Linked DNA regions of Homo sapiens: all the other regions are linked to region 2. Evidence: promoter capture Hi-C in 16 types of primary human blood cells and fetal thymus (Javierre and others, 2016). All regions are on one chromosome and are shown on one strand. The core of a region is centred on a gene start or on the middle of the fragment in contact, and the rest is flanking DNA. Distances in the headings are between cores, read along the strand shown. Region 1 overlaps NR1I2 (nuclear receptor subfamily 1 group I member 2). Region 2 holds the start of POGLUT1 (protein O-glucosyltransferase 1). Region 3 holds the start of TEX55 (testis expressed 55).

Evidence for each region. Contacts are between HindIII fragments. The CHiCAGO score rates a contact against its expected background, and 5 or more counts as called.
Region 1: a fragment that was not itself captured here is called in contact with the fragment with the promoter of POGLUT1 in region 2 in 1 of 17 cell types (erythroblasts); the score reaches 5.6 in erythroblasts.
Region 3: a contact is called between the fragment with the promoter of TEX55 here and the fragment with the promoter of POGLUT1 in region 2, in 4 of 17 cell types (non-activated CD4 T cells, activated CD4 T cells, fetal thymus and 1 more). The highest score is 10.5, in non-activated CD4 T cells.

What each region holds. Positions count from the first base shown.
Region 1 is chr3:119,793,016-119,795,959 of GRCh38, reverse strand. The region is part of intron 1 of NR1I2 (nuclear receptor subfamily 1 group I member 2); the gene reads right to left. Among named protein-coding and RNA genes, the nearest start is that of NR1I2, 12 kb to the right of the region's middle. The HindIII fragment of the contact is 1,648 bases long and covers 680-2,327 here.
Region 2 is chr3:119,467,705-119,470,561 of GRCh38, reverse strand. POGLUT1 (protein O-glucosyltransferase 1) reads right to left here and starts at 1,599. Exons shown (of 11, transcript NM_152305.3): 1 at 1,456-1,599; 2 at 652-742. The coding sequence starts at 1,540. RefSeq lists a silencer at 1,323-1,522 and enhancers at 1,573-1,742, 1,435-1,935. The HindIII fragment of the contact is 3,798 bases long and covers 975-2,857 here.
Region 3 is chr3:119,144,726-119,147,620 of GRCh38, reverse strand. It overlaps TEX55 (testis expressed 55), which reads right to left and starts at 1,456. Exons shown (of 3, transcript NM_152539.3): 1 at 34-1,456. The coding sequence starts at 1,431. It also overlaps a transcript of IGSF11 not described here. RefSeq lists a silencer at 1,905-2,199. The HindIII fragment of the contact is 11,642 bases long and covers 1-2,895 here.

The DNA of each region.
Region 1 (2,944 bases), core at 254-2,753, 330 kb before region 2:
ATACATTTGGGCCAAACAGGAATTGGGTACAGACATGGGAAGTGGTCATCTTTAGTGCAAGAAAGAATGAAATGATCAGTAGAAGGTGCAAGACACTGCCTATTAGGTTGGGAAGTTTAGTGATGATGTAGGGCAAAGGAGAAAATCCCACTATATATTTCTAGCAAAATACTAGAAAAGGGATGATCTACAGGAGAGAAGCCCTTGTCAGGGCGTGGTGGGATATAGTTTGAGAAACACAGAGAGAGGGAAAACTAAGGCAGTGAGAATGGGGGGATTGTAGTTTAGAAAGAGTCAAGAAGCCAAGTGAAAGAAATTCAAGCAAAAGAACAGAACCCAGCCTTGACTATTTCCAGGCACCGGCAATGGGAGGGAGGAGGCAGCATTAGGAGATGAGGAAGGCAGATTAACGGGGAGCCCAGAGAAACTGCAGGTGATGGGCATGTTTCTTAAGAGAATAGGAGAAAAGAAGAGGGCTGCTGGCCATGCAGAGGCTAGAGAAGAGTCACAAGGAAAGGCAGACACCCAGCAGTGCTGTGTGGTCCTAAACAAGGGAGGCAGGGCTGACTGGCTGAGCAGAGCAGGAGACTGAAGGAATTCACAGTACAATGCCTCAGAGCCCTTTTATGTCCCTCTCCTGCCCCACCCTCTTCCCATCCCCCTGCAGGCACACAAAGCTTATCTGTTACTGAGTCATCCCTTAAGGTCTGCCTATGTTGCACTTTGCCCTGCTAAAGGACTCTCCAGGGTCACAGCCGGAGAGTCGCTGTCTGGGACACAGCTAGTCTCCACTTCTGCACTTGCCCAGCTCCCTTACTGGCCTGTGCACTGACCAACCCCAGCCAAGAGCCAACTCCCCAGCTAGTGGTGTTTGGAAGAGCAATTTCATCTGGTGTTCAGGTTAGTCAATGGGCAAGTAGAGGTGCCCTTTAGTCAGCTTACGTGGGTTCTGAGGCTTACACAATTTGGGCAGTCCTATTTTATTTTATTTTACATTATTTAATTTAATTTACTTATTTTGAGACAGAGTTTCAATCTTGTCACTCAGGCTGGAGTGCAAAGGCACGATCTTGGCACACTGCAACCTGTGCCTCCTGGGTTCAAGCAATTCTCCTGGCTCAGCCTCCCAAGTAGCTGGGACCGCAAGGCATGGGCCACTACACCAGATTAATTTTGTATTTTCAGTAGAGACAGGTTTTTCACCATGTTGGCCAGGCTAATCTTGAACTCCTGACCTCAGGTGATCCATCTGCCTTGGCCAACCAAAATGCTGGGATTACAGGCATGAACCATGGCGCTTGGCCTGGGCAGTCCTATTTAAGAAAAAAGAATATAGGCCAGGTGTGGGGGCTCATGCCTCTAATGTCAGCACTTTGGGAGGCTGAGGTGGAAGGATCAATTGTGAGGAGTATGAGACCAGCCTGGACAATATAGCAAGACCCTATCTCTTAAAAAAAAAAAAAAAAAGGCTGGGTGAGTGGCTCACACCTATAATCTCAGCACTTTGGGAGGCCAAAGTGGGAGGATCACTTGAGCCCAGGAGTTCGAGACATGCCTGGGTGACATGGTGAGATCCTGTCTCTACAAAAAAATTTAAAAATTAGCCAAGTGTGGTGGCACGTACCTGTGGTCCCAGCTACTCAGGAGGCTGAGATGAAAAGATTACGTGAGCCCAGGAGGTCGAGGCTGCAGTGAGCCATGTTCACACAACTCCAGTCTGGGCAACAGAGTGAGACTCTATCTCAAAAAAAAACACCCCAAAAAAACAAACAAACAAAAAAACTCAGCCAGGCATGTTGGTGCATGCCTGTAGTCCTAGCTACTTGGGAGGCTGAGGTGGGAGGATTGCCTGAGCCCAGGAATTCAAGGCTGTGGTGAGCTAGGATTGTGCCACTGCATTCCAGCCTGGGTGACAGAGTGAGACCCTGTCTAAAAAATAATTTTAAAAAACACGCAATTACAAATACAAAATTATGTACCGAAGAGAATATTTGTAAGAAAGAATGAGAAAAGAAATCACAACAAATGACAGACATTAAAAAGGACAAGTAACAACATCACAGAATTCAGAAAAATGTCATAACACTTTCATTAATTAATTGCCTGGCATGCCTCTATAATGTTTTTGATCGTGTCCTTATGGTAGATAGAATAAAGGCCCTCAAAGATGTCTGCACCCTTATCCCCAGAACATGTGAATATGTTTCCTTATATGGCAAAAGGGTCTCTGCAGATGTGATGAGGGTACAGAACCTGGAGATGGGGAGTGTGCTGAATTATCCAGGCAGGCCTAGTCTAATCACATGAATCTTAAAATTAGAAAAGCTTTCCTGGGTTTGATCAGAGAAAGAGACGTAATGTGGAAAAAGGGTCAGATGCTAAGTTGCTGGCTTTGAAGATGGAAGAAGGGGCTGTGAGCCAAGGATTGCCACGGCATCTAGAAGCTGGAAGAGGTGAGGAAACTGATCCTCCCCTACAGCCTCCAGAAGGCAGCCTCCACTGATTGGGCAGAGTTGGGATCGCTTGGCCCACGGTGGTCCTGTCCTGCCTCTCTGCTGCACTGTAACTCTTTAATCTTGCCTGAGTGGTAAGGATTGAGGCTGTTCATTTTCCTTGTGGTAACTCTGGAGGGGAAAAAGTGGACTTTGGCTAGAAGAGAATGGGTGGGCAGCAAGTTTCCAGAGTTACAGTGAGATCTGATTGTGTTAGTCCATTTTGTATTGCTACAAAGGAATCTGAGGCTGGGTAATTTATGAAGAAAAGAGGTTTGTTTGGCTCGTGCTTCTGAAGGCTGTACAAGCTTGGCACCAGCATCTGCTTCTGGTGAGGTCTCAGGAAGCTTCCAAGCATGGTGGAAGGTGAAGTGCGAGCCGGCATGTCACACAGCAAGAGGGAGCAAGAGAGAGAGGAGGTGCCGGGCTCTTTAAACAACCAGCTCTTCTAT
Region 2 (2,857 bases), core at 350-2,849:
CTCTGTCACCCAGGCTGGGGTGCAGTGGCATGATCTGGATTCAATGCAACCTCTGCTTCCCGGGTTCAAGCGATTCTCCTGCCTCAGCCTCCCGAGTAGCTGGGATTACAGGCACGTGCCATCATGCCCAGCTAATTTTTGTATTTTTAGTAGAGACAGGGTTTCACCATGTTGGCCAGGCTGGTCTCGAAATTCTGACCTCAGGTGATCCACCTGCCTTGGCCTCTCAAAGTGCTGGGATTACAGGCATGAACCACCATGCCCAGCCTGATGTGCATTTTCTAAAGATAACCATCAGGAAATTTAGGACTAGATTCAGCGATAGATGGGTTTATTTCCTCAACAATATTTATCGAGCACGCACTGACAGCTAGCACCAGGGAGACAACAGCAAATAAGACACAGACCCTGACCTCAGGAAGCTTGCAGCCCAGTGGGAAAAACAGATGCACATGCACTGAATCCCGCAGTGAGTCAGTGGTTAGGTTGACACCACCTGAGCCTTTCCCATGCGAGAGCATTTTTATTCCCCAGAAATAGAAAAACATCCTTGCCTTTCTGACCACTGCAACCAAAATCTCTCAAGGATGTTAGAATACTTCCTGTGACAGCAACTAAACTCTCAAAGACACATCAAAGAAAAGAACTCACCCATGGTAGCAGCTGCAGTTTTGACTTGAACATGGTTCGTAATTCTCCAAAGACCTGTTAATTTGGTCAATAAATACTTTCCATTTTGAACCTTTAAAAAGTGAAGTAAATGAGAGTTAAAAAAATTTTCCTGAATGTTATTTGCTGACACCACACCAACAGAAGAAACAGAAGACCAAAACTTTCAGAAATCCCCTTCCCATCCCACTGATGGAAACGAAACGCTAGGGAGGAATTTTTGTGTGTGCAACTCCCACGCTCACGTCAAGTCTGTTCCTCTATCCGGCTGTCAGGTGTCCAAGAAACTGGAAAATTCCCAAGCTTAATGCTCAACCCTCAGAATGCTATGGATAGTGACGCGGACTCTCACTTTCTACTAATCAAATTGAACTCCACAAAGAGGATCAGTTAAAAGCTACAGACATTAAACCCCTCTTCTCTTCTGGCAACGCATATACACACACGCTCGCGCGCACGACATTTGCCCCCATCCCCGACCCCTCAGTGTTTCAGGCAGGTCCAGAGTAGCCAAGCACGGGCCACGCCTCCTGCGGGTGAACGGGGAATTCCCTCTCCTCCCTGTCATTCTGAATTCCGGGGAATGGGTTACTCTCCAGGGTCCAGAGCAGGAGCAGAGACCCCGGCACCTCACTCTCCGCCGCAAGGCGCCCCGGTGCCTTCTGCCCAGCTCCGAGCTACAGCGGCCACGGCATCTTCCCGGGAGCCGGCCGCGCGGGGGAGCGCCTCGGGACTCCGGCCAGACCCCGAGCCCAAGGGGCAGGCTCGGCACTGCCCGGAGCCCACCTGACTCCTTCTGGCGGCCCTGCGCTGAGGGCAGGAGGAACAACAGCAGCCAGAGCCGAAGCGGCGAGCTAGCCCACCACTCCATCGCCGGCAGACCTACTGCAGATTCCCCGCTGCGGCGCTGGCGGAAGCGCGGCCCCGCACAAAGATGGCCCGGGAGCCGCAGCACGTGGGCGGCGGGTCGCCCCGCACAAAGATGGCCACCGTGGCCCCACCACCCTTCCTCCAGTCCCCAGCCTTGAGGCGGAGTTTCCCTGAGAAGGCTGCGCCGGGAAGGTGGGGAGGATAAACGAATGGACCAGTTGCCTATCCTCCCTCCCTGGCACCCCTGGGAAAATAGGTCTGCAGCCAGAAAACTGAAGGTCAGAGAGGGTATGTTTCACGGTTAGTGGCACAACCAAGACTTGGCATAGAGCCTAGGCCAAACAGTTCTTCTCTTGACGTCAAATTGCCTCTTATCAAATAGCATAAATTTGTTGAGCATGTGTGTGTGTGTGTGTGTGTGTGTGTGTGTGTGTGTACAGCACGGTTAGACCCCAAAGGTTGCAATTAGCATAGCAGGGATCCCTTTGTAATAGGAATTTATAACAGTTGGGGTGACTTAGACGTAGGAAAAAAGATCAATGGTGTTAAATAAAGTTTATGGGAGGTCGTTGTTTTGGACAGAACTCTGGCACTAGGCCTCAAGAGAGCAGACAAAACCAGAATGGAGGCAACTTGTCCTAGGTGCTGCGTAATTAAACTCAGCTTTAAAAGGGGTCAGTTTTCCAACAAATAGGAGAAGGGGCCCATATACCTGAGCTGGCATGATAAAGAAGTCCCCTCTGATGTAACTCTTTGAGGAAAGTAACTTCAAAATGACCAATCTGCTTTTTGTTCCTTATTTCTGCTTTCTTCAGCCCTTTTCTGCCTATAAGCCCAACCCCTTCTGCTCAGCTCATTAGAACACTTTTCTGTTTTATAGATGAGATGCTGCCTGATTCATGAATCACTAATAAAAGCCAATTCGATTTTTTTTTTTTTTTGAGACAGAGGACAGTCTAACTCTGTTGCCCAGCCTGGAGTGCAGTGGCACAATCTTGGCTCACTATGACGTCTGCCTCCCGGGTTCAAGCAATTCTTCTGTCTCAGTCTCCCGAGTAGCTGGGATTACAGGAGTGTGTCACCATGCCCGGGTAATTTTTGTATTTTTAGTAAAGACAGGGTTTCACCGTGTTGGCCAGGTTGGTCTCAAACTCCTGACCTCAGGTGATCTGCCCACCTCGGCCTCCCAAAGTGCTGGGATTACAGGCGTGAGCCACCATGCCTGGCCAAGAACTTTAAACTAAATTTGATGAAATTTTGTTTCTTGACAGTGGGCAACATGATACTGGACAATATAGGTATATAGTATAGTACAGGT
Region 3 (2,895 bases), core at 207-2,706, 320 kb after region 2:
CCCAGGTAGGTATCAAATGCCCATTTAACTTACAGATTTGGTTACTATGGCTTGAGTTTTTTCTTGACTGCTGGTATAGTTCAATTTGGATGAGATGGAGGGGAGTCTTGGGAAAAGAGCTTGGTCTTTTGCTTGGAAGTTACTGGTGAATCTGGCATCAACTGGGTTGTAGGGTGGGATAGTGGTTGCATTCTGAGTTTCCATTTCAACTGAAGGCTTGGAATTGAGGTCTACTTGGCTATCCTCAAATTTGCAGGGTTGTACTCTGTAGTCAGCCTCTTTGTCCTCTTTGCTGTTGCCTAACTGGGGAAATATTCTGTCTTCAGACTGGCCACGTGTTTCATAGTAAGACAGCTGGTCTTTATGATTAGCTTGTCTGTCTGCTAAGTGGTCAGTCTGGTCAGATTCAGTGTAGTGAGCATTGTCAACTGGAGGTTGATCAGCATTACTATGAGCTTGGTCAATAGCCTGGTGTTCAGCTAGTTCAGTGGCTTGGCCGTACACTTGGTGGTGAGTCTTTACAGATGTTTTGTGGTCAACGAGGCCATACAATCTGAGGTCAGTCTGCTCAGAAGTTCCTGGGTCAGCCAGGCCAGCCAATCTGTAGTCAGTCTTCTCAGAACTTCTTCTCCTAACTTTCCCTGACATTCTGCGGTCAATCTGTACGGAAGGTCTTTGGTCAGATGGTACGGACGATCCACTGTCAATCTGTACAGAAGGACTTTGGTCAGATGGGACGGATGACCCACTGTCAATCTGCACAGAAGGTCTTCTCTCAGATAGTTTGGATAATCTGTGTGTAATCTGCTCAGAAGTTCTTCGCTCAGCCTCGCCAGACATTCTGCGGTCCATCTGCTCGGAAGCTCTTCTCTCAGACTGGCCTGCCATTCTGTGGTCGGTCTGTCTGGAACCTCTCTGGTCAGATGGCATAGCCAGTCTACCATCAATCTGCCCAGAAGTTCTTCTCTCAGCCTGGGTAGGTAATCTTCGTTCAGTCTGTTCAGCAGTTCTTTCCTCCGTCAGGCCAGACACCTGACCATCACTCTGTTCATGCTGTACATTATTAGCTTGGCTAGATGCCTTGCCTTTAGTCTGTTCAGACGGTGTTTGATTAACCTGATCATCTGCTCTAAGGTCAGAAACATCAGCAGGGTTGGATGCTCTGCGGCCAGCCTGACCAGGTGTACTATGCCCATTTTGTTCAGCTACTCCGTTGGTAGCTTGGCTAAATATGCTGGATTCAGCCTGGCTAGGCACTCTTAGGGCAGTCTGGTCAGCTATTCTGTGAGCAGTGTGGTTATCTGCCTTCCTTTCGGCCTGGTTCTTCTGGTCGTCTTCTTCCTGGCCCTTAGTGTGGCCAGCACTTGAGGGAGCGGCTGGGCTTTCATGTTTCAAGGGTTCAGCCAGAGCCTCTTGCGGAGGCTCTTCCATTTCCTGCCGCGTCCCTGACTGGTCTAGGTTGCCAGGCACTGTGGGTGGGGTTGGGCTGGGTCGTCTAGGCGACCCTCCAGGAACGCCCCATGATTCCCACGGGCTTTGTTCGGGTCACTGCGTGCGTCAGGGAGAGTGGCCGTCCCGCTGTTGTAAGTGGAGGGACGGCAGTCAGCTGACCCTGCAGTGTGCAGGCGAGCGCAGGGAGTACGCCATGTCCTGAGAAGGGGCGATTCTCAGGCTCTGGCAGTTACAGCTTCTCCTCACCCTGCCGAGCAACCAGGCCACGGGGCTCCGTGCATCGCCACCTAGAGTGTTACCCTCTTCCTTGTTCACAGAGGTTCTCCGCAGTGTGTGAGAAAGAGGCCCTCTCTCAGGTACTGCTCCTCTGATTAACATCCCCCACCGCACCTCCAAATGTCAACAGATGAACACACAACCAGCTGCACGAGGACCACAAAACTGAACAGAGGTTGTTGCTATTGCCATCCCCTTTGGGTATAGCTGTCTTGGCAGTGGAAACTCCTGCCCCAAGGTGTTTTCTTGCTGGATTAGACATGTGATCTGTGGCGGGAGAGCCAGAGAGAGGAGAGAAGATCCAGTGAGAATGGGTTCTAAAACTGCACCATCTAGTGGTCTTACAGCAGAGAGGCGAGTTAGAAGGAGGCCAAATCAGAGTTCCAGAAAGGAAGGGAGTAAGGAAAGTGGGAGAAAGATACCAGAAGGAATATTTAGCAAGTGGAGAATTTGTATTTGATAGTGTTGGCCAGTGGGGCCCAGTTTTTGAGATTTGGTCCTCCCACTTTGCAATCAACCTTAAGAATGCACCTCAGAGTCAGTAGGCTGTCTACTTTCAGGAGTAGGCCAGTACAGAGGTGGTGATTGATGAGACAAATTACTTTGACCTTGCAAAGCCTGAAATCACTGAGGCAGGCCAAGGGTTGGTAGTGTGATGCCAGATATTCCTTTAGTAGGGATTTAACTGCATTAAACAATTAGAAATGAGACTTAAAATCCAAATTCAAATACTTGTGACAAAGGAGAGTGGATACACTTGACACCATACTTAGGAATGGAAAGGGGAATCTAAGCACACTGAAGTAAAGTCATTTATGTAACAGTGCCTAGAACATAATAGGTGCTCAAGAAGTGCTTGTTGAATGTCACTTTATGAATTATCTACCTTATTTATTTAAAAATGCATGACACCATTGGATACTGTGTTTAGAGTAAAATAGGTCTTGGGCTATGGCTTGTAGCTTCAAAGTGCTATTGGTTTTGGAGATTTATTTTTCCATTTTATAACTTAAATGTAATAATCATAGAAATATAAAAAAGAAAGCGTAAAGAAAAAAATTCCCAAACACTCAAGAGATAACCTGTATTGACATTTTGATGTTTATCCTTCTGGAAATACCCCCATGCAAATCTATGTGTCTATATCTATAGGTATGTATATATTTT